Linked DNA regions of Homo sapiens: regions 1, 2, 3, 4, 5 and 6 are each linked to region 7. Evidence: promoter capture Hi-C in 16 types of primary human blood cells and fetal thymus (Javierre and others, 2016). All regions are on one chromosome and are shown on one strand. Each heading gives the region's core, a stretch centred on a gene start or on the middle of the fragment in contact. The rest is flanking DNA. Distances are from core to core; before and after follow the strand shown. Region 1 overlaps TSHZ2 (teashirt zinc finger homeobox 2). Region 2 overlaps TSHZ2 (teashirt zinc finger homeobox 2). Region 3 overlaps TSHZ2 (teashirt zinc finger homeobox 2). Region 4 overlaps TSHZ2 (teashirt zinc finger homeobox 2). Region 5 overlaps TSHZ2 (teashirt zinc finger homeobox 2). Region 6 overlaps TSHZ2 (teashirt zinc finger homeobox 2). Region 7 holds the start of CYP24A1 (cytochrome P450 family 24 subfamily A member 1).

What was found. The method cuts DNA at HindIII sites, captures the fragments that hold promoters and counts their contacts. A CHiCAGO score of 5 or more calls a contact.
Region 1: a contact is called between a fragment that was not itself captured here and the fragment with the promoter of CYP24A1 in region 7, in 1 of 17 cell types (neutrophils). The highest score is 6.7, in neutrophils.
Region 2: a contact is called between a fragment that was not itself captured here and the fragment with the promoter of CYP24A1 in region 7, in 1 of 17 cell types (neutrophils). The highest score is 5.0, in neutrophils.
Region 3: a fragment that was not itself captured here is called in contact with the fragment with the promoter of CYP24A1 in region 7 in 2 of 17 cell types (neutrophils and non-activated CD4 T cells); the score reaches 7.1 in neutrophils.
Region 4: a fragment that was not itself captured here is called in contact with the fragment with the promoter of CYP24A1 in region 7 in 1 of 17 cell types (neutrophils); the score reaches 5.0 in neutrophils.
Region 5: a fragment that was not itself captured here is called in contact with the fragment with the promoter of CYP24A1 in region 7 in 1 of 17 cell types (neutrophils); the score reaches 5.5 in neutrophils.
Region 6: a fragment that was not itself captured here is called in contact with the fragment with the promoter of CYP24A1 in region 7 in 1 of 17 cell types (neutrophils); the score reaches 6.2 in neutrophils.

Annotation. Positions count from the first base shown.
Region 1 is chr20:53,340,011-53,342,710 of GRCh38, forward strand. The region is part of intron 2 of TSHZ2 (teashirt zinc finger homeobox 2); the gene reads left to right. Among named protein-coding and RNA genes, the nearest start is that of TSHZ2-AS1, 160 kb to the right of the region's middle. The HindIII fragment of the contact is 4,559 bases long and covers 1-2,700 here.
Region 2 is chr20:53,186,349-53,189,048 of GRCh38, forward strand. The region is part of intron 1 of TSHZ2 (teashirt zinc finger homeobox 2); the gene reads left to right. Among named protein-coding and RNA genes, the nearest start is that of TSHZ2, 220 kb to the left of the region's middle. The HindIII fragment of the contact is 1,626 bases long and covers 505-2,130 here.
Region 3 is chr20:53,271,661-53,274,360 of GRCh38, forward strand. The region is part of intron 2 of TSHZ2 (teashirt zinc finger homeobox 2); the gene reads left to right. Among named protein-coding and RNA genes, the nearest start is that of TSHZ2-AS1, 230 kb to the right of the region's middle. The HindIII fragment of the contact is 4,570 bases long and covers 1-2,700 here.
Region 4 is chr20:53,214,727-53,217,426 of GRCh38, forward strand. All of the region lies in intron 1 of TSHZ2 (teashirt zinc finger homeobox 2), which reads left to right. Among named protein-coding and RNA genes, the nearest start is that of TSHZ2, 240 kb to the left of the region's middle. The HindIII fragment of the contact is 6,183 bases long and covers 1-2,700 here.
Region 5 is chr20:53,253,440-53,256,139 of GRCh38, forward strand. TSHZ2 (teashirt zinc finger homeobox 2) reads left to right here. Exons shown (of 3, transcript NM_173485.6): 2 at 60-2,700. Among named protein-coding and RNA genes, the nearest start is that of TSHZ2-AS1, 250 kb to the right of the region's middle. The HindIII fragment of the contact is 4,977 bases long and covers 1-2,700 here.
Region 6 is chr20:53,358,301-53,361,000 of GRCh38, forward strand. All of the region lies in intron 2 of TSHZ2 (teashirt zinc finger homeobox 2), which reads left to right. Among named protein-coding and RNA genes, the nearest start is that of TSHZ2-AS1, 140 kb to the right of the region's middle. The HindIII fragment of the contact is 3,082 bases long and covers 1-2,700 here.
Region 7 is chr20:54,172,575-54,175,274 of GRCh38, forward strand. It overlaps CYP24A1 (cytochrome P450 family 24 subfamily A member 1), which reads right to left and starts at 1,412. Exons shown (of 12, transcript NM_000782.5): 1 at 748-1,412; 2 at 335-525. The coding sequence starts at 1,005. RefSeq lists an enhancer at 1,042-1,635. The HindIII fragment of the contact is 2,450 bases long and covers 230-2,679 here.

The sequences.
Region 1 (2,700 bases), core at 143-2,642, 830 kb before region 7:
TCTCAAGAATCTTGCTTTTGCAAAAATTGCATCTGTTCAACTCAAATTCCTTTTCTTTGATTTTTGGTGTGATCATCTCTTTCCAGAAGCAATAAATGCCAATGCCTGGTGGGGGGAAGAGCAGCCAATGCAGGAATGCTAGGATAAAACAAGGTGACTTTTCTTTCTTTTTTCTTTTTTTTTTTTTTTTGAGATGGAGTCTCGCTCTGTCACCCAGGCTGGAGTGCAGTGGCACAATCTCGGCTCACTGCAAACTCCGCCTCCCAAGTTCACGTCATTCTCCTGCCTCAGCCTCCGAGTAGCTGGGACTACAGGCGCCCGCCACCATGCCCAGCTAATTTTTTGTATATTTTTTAGTAGAGACGGGGTTTCACCGTGTTAGTCAGGATGGTCTCTAACTCCTGACCTCGTGATCCGCCTGCCTTGGCCTCCCAAAGTGCTGGGATTACAGGCGTGAGCCACTGCACCTGGCTGCTAAAACAAGGTGATTTTTCAAAAAATTATTGCACAATGTGCAATGAGCCCTATATCATCATCCTTTCAAAATATTCTACACAGGTTATTTCCAAAGACAAAGAAACTCAGTGGGGATTGCATGGGAGAAACTGTGTTGCGCACTCCTATGAAGGATCCCCATGTAGCCTTCACAGTTTCACTTAGATTCTGTCTCTTCCAGGACGTCCTCTCTTATTTCACCTAACTTGGGCTAGTTCGTCCTTCTGAAGCTCCTGTAATGTAACAGCTGTGCCTCTAGCCCTCTCTTTCTCTCTTCTTTGTCTTGTAGACATGAGAGACAGCAGTGAGTAATGGGACAATCACCAAGCATGGGAGAGGGACAAAGGTGGGGTAGGCCCTGCATCTGTGTTCGCTTGGACAAGCTGCCTGAGTTCTCCAGACATCAACTCCTCAATCTGAAAAAAATTGAGCGCAATTATTCCTACCTGCTGGCTTGTTGGTGGCTGTGCTTGCCATTGTCATTTTAATTTTTGTTATTACTGTTGTATAAGTTTTAGGTCTGCTATTAGATTTAGGATCCTTCAGGCCAAGACTTTATTGACCTTTGTGTTCCTAGCCCCCTTCTATGCCAGCATAGAGGACAGTCCCTGGCACATAGTAGATGCTCAATAGTATTTGTCGGGGCAGTGAGTAAATTCCCTGCCTCAGTTTGCTTGTCCTTGAGGAGGTAGATACAAAATCAGAACTCACAGCTTCCCTTATCCACCTCCGATCGCCAGCCTTCCAGAGCATTTGCTGAGCTCACCACCAGGGAACGAATACAACAACATTGATTGCGATGCTGAGTTGTGCCAGACTCTGTGCTAAGGTTGGAGTGACCAATAATCCCAGTTTGCCTGAGACTGAGGGATTTCCTGGGACATAAAATTGTCAGTCCTAAAACTGGGATAATCACAGAAGGAGGAACAGGTTGGCCACCCTTGCTAAGGCTTTTCATGCATTATCTCTTTCTGTCTTTTTTCTTTATTTTTTTTTTTAATAGAGATGGGGTCCTTACTATGTTGACCAGGCTAGTCTCGAACTGCTGACCTCAAGCAATCCTCCCATCTCAGCCTCCCAAAGTGCTGGAATTACAGGCTTAAACCGCCATACCCGGCCGAATTATCTCTTATCTATTTTAAATATGCTTCATTTCTTAGAACAGTTTTTTATTTATGTATGTATAGATATATTTGCTTTGTGGGGCAGGGGGGTGCGGGCTGGGGGGACAGAGCTGCTCTGTTGCCCAGGCTGGAGTGCAATGATGTGACCTCAACTCACTGCAACCTCCACCTCCCGGGTTCAAGCGATTCTCCTGTCTCAGCCTCCCAAGTAGCTGGGATTACAGGCGTGTGCCACCACACCCAGCTAATTTTTGTATTTTTAGTAGAGAAGGGGCTTCACCACGTTGACCAGACTGGTCTCGAACTCCTGAGCTCAGTTGATCCACCCACCTCGGCCTCCTAAAGTTCTGGGATTATAGGCGTGAGCAATCATGCCCAGCCAGAACAATTTTAAATATACAGAAAAATTGAGATGCTTGTCCAAAGAGCCCCCACATGCCCCACACCCAGTTTCCCCTATTTGTAACACCTTACGTTAGTACCGTAAATTTGTCACAACAAATGAACCAGCACGGATACGTTATTATGAACCAAAATCCATACTCTATTCAGATTTCCTTAGTGTTTCCCTGCGTCATTTTCCTGCTCCAGGCTCACACTCGGAATACCACAACACATCTACTTTCCATGTCTCCTTGGGCTCTTGTTGGCAGTAATATCTTCTCAGGCTTTTTTTTTTTTTTTTTTTTAATGATGACCTTGACTGTTTTAAGGCGTACTGGTCAGGTATACTGTAGTATCTCATTTAATCCTCATATAAACCTTAAAGAATGAACACTATTGTTCCATTTTACCAATGGGGTTGCTGACGCTTACGTCCGGTATAACCAGTAAAGGGTTGAATGGTAATTTGAGTTTCCACTGGGGGCAATGATTCCTTAATAACATCAATTCATAGTAAGTATTATCTTCAGTGCTTGTTCTGTCTCAAGTACCCTGCAAAGAAGCCCGTCCCTATTGTATTCTTTCATCCTCATAAGCACAGCACTGTAGACACTCACGTATGCCCATTTTACAGATAAGGAAACCAAGGCCAAGAAAGGTTAAGTCTCTGGCTCAAGTCATGAAACTGATGGAAGAA
Region 2 (2,700 bases), core at 68-2,567, 990 kb before region 7:
TGAAACTCAGAATTGCCTGAAGACTTTTCTACAATACAACTTTCAAAAACCCACTGCAAACGTACTGAATCAGAAACCCTAGGCTTGAAGCTCTGCAAGTCTGTGTCTTTGATAAAATACTGCAAGTAATAGTTTGAGGGTTTGGGGTCAAGCAGTCAGCTCTAGGAAGAAAACTCTATATGTGCTCACATCCATCTCACTTTTTCTGAGTGGTCTCAGGTTGCCATCCTCACCACCTGTATTGTTTTCAGGGCAGCATGTCAAACCGAGGTACCCCCATTATTGAAGAAGGTTTCTTTTCACCTGCCTGCAGGCATTCATCACACCACCTCTCCTCTCTGCCACCCGCCTTTGCTTTGAGTCTTTTATCCCATTTCCAAGTCATTCTCTGTCTGGCATCCACCTAAATACAACCACACGGGGGAGGGAGGCAGCAGCCGTATTAACAATCTCCCCTCATCAATCACTTGGGGGAGAGTTACTTCTTTGCAATCTAAACATGAAAGCTTGTCTCCTCTTGGGGGCAGTGTGTGCGCAGGGACACTAGGGTTTAATATATATATATATATATTTTGGGGCCAGGTCGAAAGAAACCCCTAGGGCATAATCTCCTTAATTACACTTCTGCCATTTTTCATGGAGCCTGGTAGTTCGAGGAGCCCCTTTCTTTGTGTGTATATAGCCAAAATGAGTTTTAAGCTGTGGAGGGAGCAACCTAATCAATTTCCTTGGCCTGGGCCTTTTAGAATCCAATATAGCATAGATACAGGACAGTGATAATGATTTGACACTCGCCGCACGTCTGGGGGCTACACATCGCTGGTGAAAAAATGTCATGCCCAGATGAATACTGTTGGCCTCTGGTTCCAACACAACACCAAGAAAACATTGCAGTATTATGAGAATTCCTGTTCCTTCTGTCGATACGTTCAAGATGGTTCTTACTTCTGAGCAGGTATCGATTGTGTATAGGTTAGGCCCCACCTGTGCCATTTGTCATTTCTGATATAATATCGTGTTATCGTTTAAAGCTGTAATGGGAGAGGTGTCTGTGTTTAAAGCAAACCGGTGTCTCGAGCTTTGATAAATGGCTAGATGGTCTTTGTTTCTGCAGCAGTGAGCAGTTGGCTTGCTATTTGCTTTACCTTTTATCCAAGAATAACTGTGTGAGGAGTTCTGGAAGCGAGCAGTATCATTTTGTCAGATGTGGTCCGTGGCTAGCCGGGTGGTCCCAGCAGAACAGCTGTGGGATTTTAGCACCCGACAGGATGTTAGCAGAGGGCCTGTGTAAATCTGAAACAACTCAAGCTCCACATGGCTGCATTTGGTTGAAAAGTTCTCAGTGCTGTTTTTTTTTAAGGTGAGAGGACAGGAAATGCTGATGGGAAAGAAAAAAAAAAATATGTGCTTGGGATAATAATTTTATTCAGATGGAGCATTTCTGAGAAAAAGTGATCTGAGGGAAAAGGGTGGTGCTATCATGAGGGAAAATGGGAAATCAGTAAAGTGTGGCTGTCTCTAACATATGCATACCTCCCATCTCCAAAAGCGTGGCTCAGGCAGCTCCTGCTACCCTTAAACCACCCGCCTCCTGGTAACATGGCTCACCCTCTCCATATATCATTAGAACCCTCAGAAATGTGGCACGAAGCAAGTCTGGAAGACTTTCTGTTCCTGGAACTGAAGGTATTCGTGGGTTACAATCATGACACTTAATTCATCAGAACAGGCAGTTTGTCAGGACAAATAGCAGTAGTTTTGTGCCCACAGTTCCCTTCTCAAAATTCATGAAAACCAAAATGCTCCCACAATTCCAATGCGACTTTGCATGGCGGCAATGACTATCATTTCTCTCTGCCTTCTTTAAGGGGGAGGGGAGGGCCAGCCATGTATCATTACATAAATGGTACAACATGCCTGTTCCCCCAGCTCTACAGCCGAGGGGACTTTTGGAGAAGCGCCTGACATGAATCTGCTCCTAACTGGGAGTCGATCAAGTTATTTTCAGAAAAGTTCACCAGGTTTTCAATGTTCAGTGTAAAATCTACATTGGACTAGAGATACAAGGCAATGCTAAGCAACCTTGTTTCCTGGAGCCTGCTCTTCACTTTGATTTCTCTAGGACAGAGAAGCTTTTTGGTGATGAGTCCATACTTTCTCAACAGCATCTTTCTAAATTAATGAAATGCACTTGCTAGACAATGGAGAGGGTCTGTAGAATACACAAGGGCTATGAGACAGAATAAATGTCCACAAGCCTTGTTAGGATTTGGTGCTAGTCCATAGAAGAAATAGGTCCAAATAGGTATATAATTAAATATATATGTCTAGCTCCATCTTACACACACATATACATATGAATACATATTAATAAACATTCATACTCTCATAAATTCAGTATACCTATGAACCAGCTGCCTAAGTTATAAGAACGTAAATTGCCTATATATATACGGTTCTTACGTATATAAGAACCTGATTAGCAAGTACTTATATGTATCAATATTTTAAATTATATACCTACTGTATACCAGGCATATATGTACATTAGTGCATTTAATCCTTATAACATGTCTATGAGGAAATATGATTATCCCCATTTTTCAGATGACAGAGATGAGGTTGGAGAGAGCTAACATTCTTTGCTCAAAAGCACACAGCTTAGAAGTAGCAGATTCTTTCCTCATGCCATTTCTAATA
Region 3 (2,700 bases), core at 53-2,552, 900 kb before region 7:
AATGATGAAAAGGAGCTAGCCAGGAGGATAAGAGGGAAAAGTGTTGCGGAAAGAAGGAACGGCAAGAGTAAAGTCTTGTTAAGTGAGAGAGAGGGTGTGGTTCATTCCAGAAAATGCATGTGGCTCAGTATGATTGCAGAGAGCCCAGTTTTGGGGAGCAGATGGCAGAGAGAGGAGGCTGAACAGACAGGTGGCTGGTGGATGTGCATACAATGGCTTCTCCTTGGGTGCACAAACTTTGTCTTTTCATGATCATAGAGACAGATATTCAATTGAGGTTTGCTTTATGAAATATTGGAGCATTGTTTCCATGAAATTGACTTTGCAGGGCTGGGAAGTGAGTGGAGAAGTGGATTTTTTTTTTTCTTTTGTGACGGAGTCTTGTTCTGTTGCCAGGCTGGAGTGCAGTGGTGCGATTTCGGCTCACTGCAACCTCCACCTCCCTGGTTCAAGTGATTCTCCAGCCTCAGCCTCCTGAGTAGCTGGGATTACAGGCACGCACCACCACACCTGGCTAATTTTTGTATATTTAGTAGAGATAAGGTTTCACCATGTTAGTCAGGCTGGTCTTGAACTCTTAACTTCATGGTCTGCCTGCCTCGGCCTCCCAAAGTGCTAGGATTACAGGCATGAACCACCGTGCCCGGCCGAGAAGTGGACTTTTAACTGAGCCTCCAGTTGACATTGGATACAAGGTCGACCTCCACCTCGAAGCTCTGGGAGGGCAGGGGCTGCATCTGACTGGCTTCCTGTTGTATTCCTTGGAACCCAGACTCTACAAATATTGGATAAAAGAAAGGAAGGAAGGAGAAGAGAGAGGGAGAAAGGGACATGCTATCTAGGAAGTGATTATACTTCCTTTTGCCATCCTCCATGGGCGAAATGACAATAATACTTACGTCTCTCATCCGTGAGGCAGATCAAATACATAAAAGTACACAAAACATGAAGCACAGTCCCCAGCATCTAACATAAGCCCAGTGCAAATGAATCTTCAGGCTTTGCACAGCCAGAAAAGTATGAGGATGTAAGAAACATTTCCAGCCTGCCGTAGAAAGGACTAACACTCTGCCAGGATGTTTTTGCATCCGGGGTAAGAAATGTCTATGCTAACTCTTGGAGGAACTGCTGTGTGCCAGGCTCTGTTCTGAGTCCTGGGCTACACCAGAGAATAAGAGAAACAGGGGATGCAGGTTGATAATAATACTAAGGGCTAACATCTATTGAGCACATAAATACAAGTAACAATTTCTGAGAATGAGGGGCTACCAAGGAAATATGGGGTAGTGCAAGGGACTGTGACAGGGCCACCTACTTTAAATAGAGGAGATTGAAAAGACAGGAGTCAGGTGGCAACTTGGAAGCAGAACATCCCAGGCAGGAGAAACAGGAGCAGGGCTGATATGTTTGATTCAGAGAAAGGCCGGAGTGTCATGAGCTGGGCATCCAGTGGTGGGACATGAATTGTGGGATGAGCATGGGACAACTCAGGGCTTTGTAGAACATGCTAAGAACTTTGGATTTTTTGAGACCATGCTAACTGGGTGGGGAAATAAAAGAACGTTGGATTTGTTTTTCATTAGGTCCACTGGGAAGCCATTGAAGCAGCTTGAACAGGCATGTGGCATGATCTACTTTCTTTCTTTTTTTGAGACAGAGTTTCACTCTTCTTGCCCAGGCTGGAGTGCAATGGTGCGATCTTGGCTCACTGCAACCTCTGCCTCCTGGGTTCAAGTGATTCTCCTTCCTCAGCGTCCTGAGTAACTGGAATTACAGGCATGTGCCACCACGCCTAATTTTGTATTTTTAGTGGAGACAGGGTTTCACTATGTTGGCCAGACTGCTCTCGAACTCCTGACCTCAGGTGATCCACCTGCCTCGACTTTCCAAAGTGCTGGGATTATAGGAATGAGCCACCACGCCCAGCCTACTTTCATTTTTATAAGATCACTCTGGCTACTGGGTGTGGAATGGACAAGAGGGTCAGGAGTGAAAGCAGGAGGCCAGCAAGGAGGCTGTTGGGAGACCGGGAACAGATGGCCTTGGTTGGAGCCTCAGTGGAGGCGGTGAGCATGGGAAGGAATGCGTGGACCTGGGAGAATTCTGGATCACTCAGGACCATGCTTGCCTAGGGAGGAGAAGGGACTTCAAACAAAGAAGACACGTGTTCATGGGGACAGATTCTCTCAGCTTCACACTGTGGGGCCCCGGGTGGGCTCTAGAGGACCAGGATACAACTGCTCTTCCCGAATCTCCCCTGGACCACCCGGACTCCCAAGCATGCCATCACTGCCCATCTCCCAAGAGGAATCCATTCCGATAAAAGTAAACCACTAGTGGCCGGGCGCAGTGACTCACACCTGTAATCCCAGCACTTTGGGAGGCCAAGGCGGGCAGATCACAAGGTCAGGAGATCGAGACCATCCTGGTGAGACCTCATATCTACTAAAAATACAAAAATTAGCTGGGTGTGGTGGCGCGTGCCTGTAATCCCAGCTACTCAGGAAGCTGAGGCAGGAGAATTGCTTGAACCTGGGAGACGGAGATTGCAGTGAGCCGAGATCGCACCGCTGCGCTCCAGCCTGGCGACAGAGTGAGACTCCATCTCAAAATAAATAAATAAATAAGTAAACCACTATTTTCATGCTTCTCCAGGAATTACGAAGTGTAAAGACAAAAGGTCCCGCTGTGCTCGCCTTC
Region 4 (2,700 bases), core at 16-2,515, 960 kb before region 7:
AAGAAGAAGACAATGTGAGCAGAGAAAGGAATGAAGCAGAAGGAAGGGAGGGTGTGTAGAGTGTCCAGTGCCTGCCTGTGCTTAGTAAGCACTCAATCAATAAACACTATTATTATTATAATTAATCTAAGAAGGAGCCCGTAAACCTGAGAGGAGAGTGTCATTGCAATGAGCTTGATTGAAGCAAGATTTGTGAAGGATGTGGCATTTAAAAGGTTGAGATAAGAGTTCATGGGGAGATGAGGGAAGGGCCATCTGAGGGAAAAGGAAGGATAAAAAATCCAATGGACACTGAGATCGGGCACACCAGTGGGCGGGACCCATAGGCTAATGTCCTCCTGCAGAAATGCAGTTTGGGTTTGTTTTTGCAGGGAGGTTGTTTGTTTGAGTTTTTTTTAAAGATTATCTCATCAAAACCTGAATTTCAGGCTACTGTGAGAAAAAGTAGAAAATCTAACAGCACTGAGCCCACTTTTCCACGTGGCAAACACTGGTCTAAGTCCTTACAGCCCTGCCACATCATCCCAAGATCACAACACCACTTCCCGGGATTCCAGTATATTGCGGTGGTTTTTAAGAGCAAAATAGCAGCATTTTGAGAGCTGCCTGTCATATGAAAAGCGTTCTCACCACACCCTTCCACTGTCTAACCATGCCACAGTATCTTGTTTCTCTTTTGGTTCTCATTTCCTGGTATATGGGAGAGGTTGAGTGGCTTTTGCCAGACATTTGCTTTCTTTCCAGAGCTCCTTCAGCTATGGTCTACAGTCAGAGTTCCATCATGGAGGCATCCTAGATTTTTTTTTTGCCTTTGGGAGGGGAGAAGTGAGGAAGAGACTATATTAAAAATGTAAGAAAGGCTGGGCACGGTGGCTCACACATGTAATCCCACCACTTTGAGAGGCCAAGGCAGGTGGATCACCTGAGGTCGGGAGTTCGAGACCAGCCTGACCAACATGGAGAGAAACCCCATCTCTACTAAAAATACAAAATTAGCCGGGCATGGTGGCACATGCCTGTAATTCCAGCTACTCAGGAGGCTGAGGCAGGAGCATAGCTTGAACTCAGGAAGCGGAGGTTGTGGTGAGCCGAGGTCGCGCCATTGCACTCCAGCCTGGGCAACAGGAGCAAAACTCCGTCTCAAAAAAAAAAAAAAAAAATTTAAAAAATGGTTTCATAGGGATGGGAAAAGAGGGGTCCCAGGCCTAATTCCCAGTCTTTCTCCTAGGGTTGAGCTCCTGCCCTTTTTCCCCTAAGGCCAAACACCTGTCTCTGATGTCTGATTCCTCTTCTCCCAGAATTCTTCATTTTGGCCAAGACCTTCTTCCCCAGTCAAATTCCCAGAGACTCATATCTGGAGGACAGAAAGGCACGACCTTAGCTCTTCCTCAGAATGAGGAATAGAAAACAGTGGGGGGCCAGCTCACTTTTTAATAAGACACTAGTATTTCAGCATTCTATGAAGTCAACACCCAAGGAATGTCCCTGTCATCTGTTCTCACCTTGCAATTGCTGGTCCTGTTGTCTTCCCCAGCCCTCTCCACACCTCACTTCACCAGCCAAGCCATTGTTGGCTCCTAAGCATTTCAGTTCCTGATGGAGGAGTAAGACAGGTAGTCAGGTAAAGCTGGAGTGAGGACAAATGGGACTGGGGTGGCGGAATCCCTGGCAGAAAGTCAAGGACGTGAACATACAAGGAAAAATAGGCCACAGCCAGAGCACTGAAGGCCACAAATGTGAACCCCTAGCTAGGATATGTCATTTTATGCCAGGCAAAATCAGGACAACAAAGGGTTCTCAAGCATAGGTGCGACCCAACCAACCCTTCACCAGCCAGGAACATTTTCTGGTGTTAATGCCATCTTAGAAAATGCTGTGAAAAGCTCCTTGCACTGAGCTAGTTTCTCATCCCCTGATGTTTACACCTCTCAAAGGTGCATGGAGCCCCACAATGTGTCACTCTCTGATTTGTCACCTGGAGAACACAGCGCAGACATGTTTGGCTGCTTTAATATTTCTCTATAAATCAATCCTCTTTCCCCTTAATCATGTGGGTTGTTCTTCTCTGAACTTGCTCCAATTTGTCTACATCTTGCTGGGACTGAGTTGTCTAAAAGTGAACACACCCTTCAAATGCGGGAACTCTCCCTGCAGCCCCTGGCAGCTCCTGGCGACTCACTTCACCGCCCGGAGAATTCCGTGCAGGGCTCCAGCGGTGAGCAGAGTTGGAAACGGCCCATCCCCAGTTTCCAAAGAGGCCGTGTCTTTCTGTTCCTGAGCGGGCCCGTTTGTTATTTTTAGTGTCTGATTGTCAGGCTGCGGCATTAGAAAGTCTGTGGTCGCATTACATATTCCAGAAAGTCACATTGCTGGTGATGTGCGGCTGTATCGATGGATGAGTAATTGCTCGCTGTCAGGCCCACCCGGTGAAGCTGTGTCCTCCCAAGTTGTGAAAGGGGGATAGTGCGAGAGCCGCACCTGCCGCGGCCCCACCTGTCTGCGCTTGGCCGATGCCAGCACCTGCAGCCTTTCGTACCAGCGCCCTCTGCTGGTCGGACGCCCCACTTCTGGGCGCTCAGGGAGCAGAAGGGGCCTGGCCTCACCCGACAGCCCCCTGGCTCTAGGCAAGTGAGATATTATTATTCCCATTTTAAAGACCAGATAACTGAGCCCCAAAGAAGCGAATATGTGGCTCACAAG
Region 5 (2,700 bases), core at 72-2,571, 920 kb before region 7:
AATTGGAATGGAATATGGAGCCTGTTACTGTCGTTTCATCTCTTCTTCTTCTCTTGCAGGCTACGCCCAGGAGGAACAGCTGAAAGAAGAGGAGGAAATAAAAGAAGAGGAGGAGGAGGAGGACAGCGGTTCAGTAGCTCAACTGCAGGGTGGCAATGACACAGGGACGGACGAGGAGCTAGAAACGGGCCCAGAGCAAAAAGGCTGCTTCAGCTACCAGAACTCTCCAGGAAGTCATTTGTCCAATCAGGATGCCGAGAACGAGTCTCTGCTGAGTGACGCCAGTGATCAGGTGTCGGACATCAAGAGTGTCTGCGGCAGAGATGCCTCAGACAAGAAAGCACACACTCACGTCAGGCTTCCAAACGAAGCACACAATTGCATGGATAAAATGACCGCTGTCTACGCCAACATCCTGTCGGATTCCTACTGGTCAGGCCTGGGCCTTGGCTTCAAGCTGTCCAATAGTGAGAGGAGGAACTGTGACACCCGAAACGGCAGCAACAAGAGTGATTTTGATTGGCACCAAGACGCTCTGTCCAAAAGCCTGCAGCAGAACTTGCCTTCTCGGTCCGTCTCGAAACCCAGCCTGTTCAGCTCGGTGCAGTTGTACCGACAGAGCAGCAAGATGTGCGGGACTGTGTTCACAGGGGCCAGCAGATTCCGATGCCGACAGTGCAGCGCGGCCTATGACACCCTAGTCGAGCTGACTGTGCACATGAATGAAACGGGCCACTATCAAGATGACAACCGCAAAAAGGACAAGCTCAGACCCACGAGCTATTCAAAGCCCAGGAAAAGGGCTTTCCAGGATATGGACAAAGAGGATGCTCAAAAGGTTCTGAAATGTATGTTTTGTGGCGACTCCTTTGATTCCCTCCAAGATTTGAGCGTCCACATGATTAAAACAAAACATTACCAAAAAGTGCCTTTGAAGGAGCCAGTCCCAACCATTTCCTCGAAAATGGTCACCCCGGCTAAGAAACGCGTTTTTGATGTCAATCGGCCGTGTTCCCCCGATTCAACCACAGGATCTTTTGCAGATTCTTTTTCTTCTCAGAAGAACGCCAACTTGCAGTTGTCCTCCAACAACCGCTATGGCTACCAAAATGGAGCCAGCTACACCTGGCAGTTTGAGGCCTGCAAGTCCCAGATCTTAAAGTGCATGGAGTGTGGGAGCTCCCATGACACCTTGCAGCAGCTCACCACCCACATGATGGTCACAGGTCACTTTCTCAAGGTCACCAGCTCTGCCTCCAAGAAAGGGAAGCAGCTGGTATTAGACCCGTTAGCAGTGGAGAAAATGCAGTCGTTGTCTGAGGCCCCAAACAGTGATTCTCTGGCTCCCAAGCCATCCAGTAACTCAGCATCAGATTGTACAGCCTCTACAACTGAGTTAAAGAAAGAGAGTAAAAAAGAAAGGCCAGAGGAAACCAGCAAGGATGAGAAAGTCGTGAAAAGCGAGGACTATGAAGATCCTCTACAAAAACCTTTAGACCCTACAATCAAATATCAATACCTAAGGGAGGAAGACTTGGAAGATGGCTCAAAGGGTGGAGGGGACATTTTGAAATCTTTGGAAAATACTGTCACCACAGCCATCAACAAAGCCCAAAACGGGGCCCCCAGCTGGAGTGCCTACCCCAGCATCCACGCAGCCTACCAGCTGTCTGAGGGCACCAAGCCGCCTTTGCCTATGGGATCCCAGGTACTGCAGATCCGGCCTAATCTCACCAACAAGCTGAGGCCCATTGCACCAAAGTGGAAAGTGATGCCACTGGTTTCTATGCCCACACACCTGGCCCCTTACACTCAAGTCAAGAAAGAGTCAGAAGACAAAGATGAAGCGGTGAAGGAGTGTGGGAAAGAAAGTCCCCACGAAGAGGCCTCATCTTTCAGCCACAGTGAGGGCGATTCTTTCCGCAAAAGTGAAACACCTCCAGAAGCCAAAAAGACCGAGCTGGGTCCCCTGAAGGAGGAGGAGAAGCTGATGAAAGAGGGCAGCGAGAAGGAGAAACCCCAGCCCCTGGAGCCCACATCTGCTCTGAGCAATGGGTGCGCCCTCGCCAACCACGCCCCGGCCCTGCCATGCATCAACCCACTCAGCGCCCTGCAGTCCGTCCTGAACAATCACTTGGGCAAAGCCACGGAGCCCTTGCGCTCACCTTCCTGCTCCAGCCCAAGTTCAAGCACAATTTCCATGTTCCACAAGTCGAATCTCAATGTCATGGACAAGCCGGTCTTGAGTCCTGCCTCCACAAGGTCAGCCAGCGTGTCCAGGCGCTACCTGTTTGAGAACAGCGATCAGCCCATTGACCTGACCAAGTCCAAAAGCAAGAAAGCCGAGTCCTCGCAAGCACAATCTTGTATGTCCCCACCTCAGAAGCACGCTCTGTCTGACATCGCCGACATGGTCAAAGTCCTCCCCAAAGCCACCACCCCAAAGCCAGCCTCCTCCTCCAGGGTCCCCCCCATGAAGCTGGAAATGGATGTCAGGCGCTTTGAGGATGTCTCCAGTGAAGTCTCAACTTTGCATAAAAGAAAAGGCCGGCAGTCCAACTGGAATCCTCAGCATCTTCTGATTCTACAAGCCCAGTTTGCCTCGAGCCTCTTCCAGACATCAGAGGGCAAATACCTGCTGTCTGATCTGGGCCCACAAGAGCGTATGCAAATCTCTAAGTTTACGGGACTCTCAATGAC
Region 6 (2,700 bases), core at 70-2,569, 810 kb before region 7:
CAGAAAAAAAAAAAAAGTTTCTGTGGTTCTTTTTTTTTTTTTTTTTTTTTTTTTTTCCCAAACAGAGTCTCATTCTGTCACCCAGGCTGGAGTGCAGTGGCAGGATCTCGACTCACGGCAACTTCCGCCACTCAGGTTCAAGCAGTTCTCGTGCCTCAGCCTCCCCAGTACCTGGGACTACAGGCGTGCACCACCATGCCTGGCTACTTTTTTTTGTTTTTTTTAGTAGAGATGGGGTTTCACCATGTTGGCCAGGCTGGTCTCGATCTCCTGGCCTCAGTTGATCAACCCACCCCGGCCTCCCAAAGTGCTGGGATTACAGGCGTGAGCCACTGCACCCAGCCGTTCTTCATCTTTTTGAAAAAAAATTTACTTCCAATTATTTGATGGTAAAATCCACCAATTTATGCATAAAATAAAATGGCAAGTTAGATTTATTTGGAGAAATAAATTGTAGAAACCATTCATCCGTTAGGGTTTTTTAAACGGTCTTGTGCCACTTGATGAAGCAAAAATAAAACTTCACTCAGCTGACAGATAATCTAGGTGACAAAATCTTTTGTCTCTCCCTTATGAAGTGACCGCTTTGAATATTTTTCTTATTTTAAAAACCAAAAATCCTTTGAATGCTATTTATTATTTTAGGAATCAAAAACCAAATGTCTATTGTGAACACAAGTCTAAGAAAGAGTAATATGAACCAGTCTTTTTCAAGATGGCCTGCTTTTTCTGCTTGAAAACATTCCCATGTTAACGTTTTTCTTCCTGGTTGCTCTGTTAGCCTTAATCTGTAAGTACTATTTTTTTGGAGGGCCTACTCTAATCCAGTTGTTTTATAGACATTATTTCATCATTCGATCCTACCAACAACTTTATGAATTAGGAGTTACAAATTTGCTTTTGTAGATAAAGAAGCTCAACATCACAGACCTTCATTCATAAAAAGGGTGAAAACTGTCTAGGGTCAGGCAGACTGGGGCCAAACCTGTTCTGGCTCTTTCTTGCTGTGTGATCTTAGCCAAGTTATTTAACCTCTCTGTGCCTCAATTTCTTATCTGTAAAATGAAAGAGAGTAATACATGCCTACAATTCCTTAGCCGTGATTCTCAAATCAAAAAATCTCTGAAAATTAAAGTGTTTTCATAAATAGGACAGCAGGGAACATACTTAAACAAAAATATTACACGTTGTTTATCTGAAACTCACATTTAACTGGGTTTGCTGTATTTTCATTTGCTAAATCTGGCAACACTAGTTTGGCGCCAACATTCATTTGGCATAAAGATTAAACTGTGCTGGCAAGAGGCTATTACAATCTTTATTTGTCCCACGTGGTGAAGATCTGAGCAGCGGGGCCAGCAAATACAACAGCTCTGAGCCATGTGGTTGGTATGTTCGAGGACAGAGAGAAGGCCACTGTGGCTGGAACAGAAAGATGGCTAGACAAAAGAGGGAAAGGAGATCAAGTCAGAAAGGCAGGCAGGAGTCAGACCGTGGAGGGCTTCGAGCCAGGCTAAAGATGGTGAGAGGTAAGCCCAAGATCACACCGATGGTGAGCAACAAAACCAGGATTCAACCCTAAGTCAGTCTTATTAGTGCATTGGTCAGTCTGTCAACAAACATCGTGGGGGAAAGTCATCCTTAAGACATCGTTATAAAGATGTCTTCAGGCTCTGGAACTAATTGAAAGATTATCAACTTGGCAGCCAATCAGCTCCTACATTGACTTTAGTACTAGAAAGAGGTACAACTGAAATGGACTTTTCAGTCCAAGGTGATAACATTGATGCCCATTTCATAGCCCTTGCTGAGTTTCTGTGCAATAGGAAAGCATCTTAATGAAAAAATCAAGATTTCCAAGTGAAGGGGGAAATGATACACTTTGTAAATGTAGTATAAATAAATCTAACATATAAGACAGTGTAATAATGATAATTCAGTATAAGACAGCATATGTCATTTTGTCACCTACCTTGCACACTTATGGTTACACATATCACCTCCTTTTATGTCCTAAGGTGTAATTTACACAGTACTAGAATTGGTGGAACGTGCTCATCTGGTCAGCCTACTTTAAGTACTCTGCCCGTGACTTTTACTTTTGTTAACCGAAGTCAATAAATATTTCGAGCTTCTACTCCATATGAAGCACAGTGCTGGGCATAAGAGACATAGAAGCAGACAAGGTCTACTCTTGAATTCACCAAGTTTGTAGTGACTATATATTTTTTTGTTTCTAGAATGCACAACGAGTGATATTTCATGGTTCCAAGATGGTGTGATTTTTGTCAGGGTTTTAATAATAACATCACAGTTAGACAGTCTTACAATGTGCTAGGCACTGTGCTAAGCGTTTATGGGGATTATCTTACCTAATTCTTAGAAAGCCCAAAAATGTAGCATTATCCCCATTTTTCAGATGGGGAAACCAGAGATTAAGTATCTTATACAAGGTACAGAGCTTGTAAACAATAGACCTGGAGTATCAAACCCAGGCAGTTTGACTTCAAAGTCAGTTCTTTTAATATAAAGTTGTGCTATGACAAACCTTATATTAAAAACTTTTGTGTTCAGGATAATGCCAGAAGCCAAGCTCTCTTCTATTTTAGCTAAGATGAGATGGTTTCTCGCACAGCAGGACTTCCTCAAGCCTCTTCTTTTTCTCCCTCTGGGGGGCTAGTTCGGGCTTTTCTTTTGAAC
Region 7 (2,700 bases), core at 162-2,661:
GGTACGCTGACTTCAGAACCTCATCCTGCCCAAGAGTCTGAACACCACAGTTGGTACAACCCTGTTTTGGCGTTTCTTTGATGGGAGGGTGTGGCCCTGCCCTGTTGCCAGAGAGAACGCAGGTGCTGGGTGCACAGCACGGCTTTTCCGTGGACCGACTCTAATCTGTACAAGAGCTCAGGGTTGCGATGGCACGGGAGAGGGGCTTTGGTATCCGCCCTACGTAAGAAGCTTCCAACCCCAGGGAACTCTAACTCCGCCTCTTCACAATTTCCAGGCGCCGTCAGGCTCATCAGGTCTGGCCGCATGCCCAGGTCCCTCGGATTGGACTCACAGGATCAGCAGCCCGTAGCCTTCTTTGCGGTAGTCGCGATAGGCCTTCCACGGTTTGATCTCCAGCCGCTGCGGGTACGCGCTCTCGGTGCGGTACAGCGCTTCCAGCAGGCATGGCGAGCCCAGGTGCACCGACTCAAAGGAACCCAACTTCATGCGGAAAATCTTGCCATACTTCTTGTGGTACTCCACCTGCAGCCGGCCGGGCACAGCGCGGTGTCAGCGCGCATCCTCCGCCGTGCCCGAAGCGCTTTCCCTCCTCCCGCCTCCTTCCTCCTAGGGGACCGGGGACCCTCCCTGCCCAGACGCCGAAGCGCACCATGCGCCCGAGGCGCGCATGTCGGGGAGGGTTTGGAGCGCCACTGGGAGGGCGGAAGAGGGAGGAGAGAGTCAGGGGCGCGAAAAGGGGTTTACCAGGGTGTCGTGCTGTTTCTTGAGACCCCCTTTCCAGAGAATCTGCAGCAGGCTGCCCAGCAGTGGCCAGCTGGTGGGGCCCGGCAGGGCGGCCGCGTTCTGAGTCTCGCCACCAGCTGTCAGCGGGCAGACTGGCACCTCTCGCGGCTGAGGGGACGTGTACGCCGTAGATGTCACCAGTCTCGGGGGCTGCCTCGGACTGCGCAGCTGCTGCAGGAAGGCGGCAAGCGAGCGGCTCTTGCTGATGGGGGAGCTCATGGCAGCGGGGGACACCGGAGCGCGGGAAGGCAGGAGGATGGGGTGGGGCGAGGTTGGTACGAGGTGCTAGTGGGAGTCGGGGCTTAACGATTCTGGGAAAAGGAAGCAAAGAGGGCCAGCTGGTGTGATGGAGCGGGGTGAGGCGGGACAGGCAGCAGAAAGGACCTCGGCGAGGATGCTCGACGCTGCACCACGCGACAGCCTCAGAGCATTGGTGCCTCCTTGCACTGGCCGCAGGGGCTGGAAGAGGGTGGCCGGTGTCTGGGGACCTCTTGAAAAGGGAAAGCTGGGAGTCCTCCTGTTGGTCCGCAAGGCTGACCTCTAGGGTCTGGCTGGAGCCACGGGGAGGTGTCAAGGAGGGTAGATGAGATGCTGCTGGCGCTGCGTTTCCTCCTGTCCCTCTCCATGTTCCTATGCCCAGGGACCATGCATTTATGGAGACAGAGCATGCCCTGGGTGGCCAATGAGCACGCAGAGGAGGGCGGAGTGGCCCCCGGCTGGCCAGACTCCGAGGGACGCGGGACCCAGGGGAGGGGGGGTGGAAGGAGGATGGAGTCAGCGAGGTGAGCGAGGGCGTCCGGGCCTGGGGTGACCGGGGCTATGTTCGCTGGGCGCGGGAGGTGGGGTGGGGGCGGCAGACTCCACCCCGGAGATAACCCCCAGGAAGTCATGCGAAGCCCGGAGTTCACCGGGTGTGCTTCGAACGCGCCTCCCCGCCCTCCCCCGGCGGGCAGGAGCCGGCAGCGGCGGCCGTGGTTGCCGCCCGGCGCTTGCACAATCGCGATGCCGGGCGGGCGAGGTCCCCGAGTGCGGGCCCAGAAAAGCTGCCGGCGTCTGCCAGGGCCCCGGGGAGCCCGGGCGCCTCCCGGGGAGCCAGATACCCCCAGCCTGGACTGAAGTGATTTTTTTTTTTTTTTTGCCTTTTTTTTTTTGGAGGAAGTTTGGCTTTCTGCGCCTCCCAGGGTGGGGAGGATTTGAGTCTTACTGAAATGCACCAGAAGAGGAGACTTTCTTAACTTGAGCAAGAAGGGGAGTTTGTAGAATTTCCTTCCTGCTGTTTCATGTTTGGTTGTTTTGCAGATTAAATGAATTAATGCACGTAAAGCGGCAACAACGAAGCCTTGTCTATAGTCAACAGTCAATAAAAGTTAGTTGCTGTTGTTACTTCTTTAGGAAGTTAGGAAATGCGCCTTGAGAGCGTGGCTTGCACCAACGATGCTTGAATTCAGGCTGGGCCACCTCCCCTATGTCCACTGCCCGCCTCTGTTCTTCTACACCGACTACCTTGTGCAAAGGAGGGGCACACAGAGCTTGAAACCACCGCCCCCAGTACTCCCCCTCTCCCCCAAGGTGCGTCCTAGGCAGGTCCAGTGACAAACATACACAATTTCTAGAGTTACCGCGGCTGGCAAGAGTAGAACTCGCTTTGCTAATTCAGGAACGGAAGTTGGAGATTTTTGTTGATTGTTTTAAAGTGGCTCGAATCCTTTCAACCTGATCCAATACAAAACTACCACCAGCCAGGGAGGAGGGGAGGGACATTCTGTTTCCTCGCCCTGCTTTTCAATTACGTGTCTCAGTCATTTTTGCCCCAAGTGTTGGCAAATCCTTCCCTGGTAAATTCTTTTGTAAGCCTCTAGTTTGTTTCTTAAAAATCTTTTGCAGTCCAACTTAAGCTTTAACACCATCATTTCT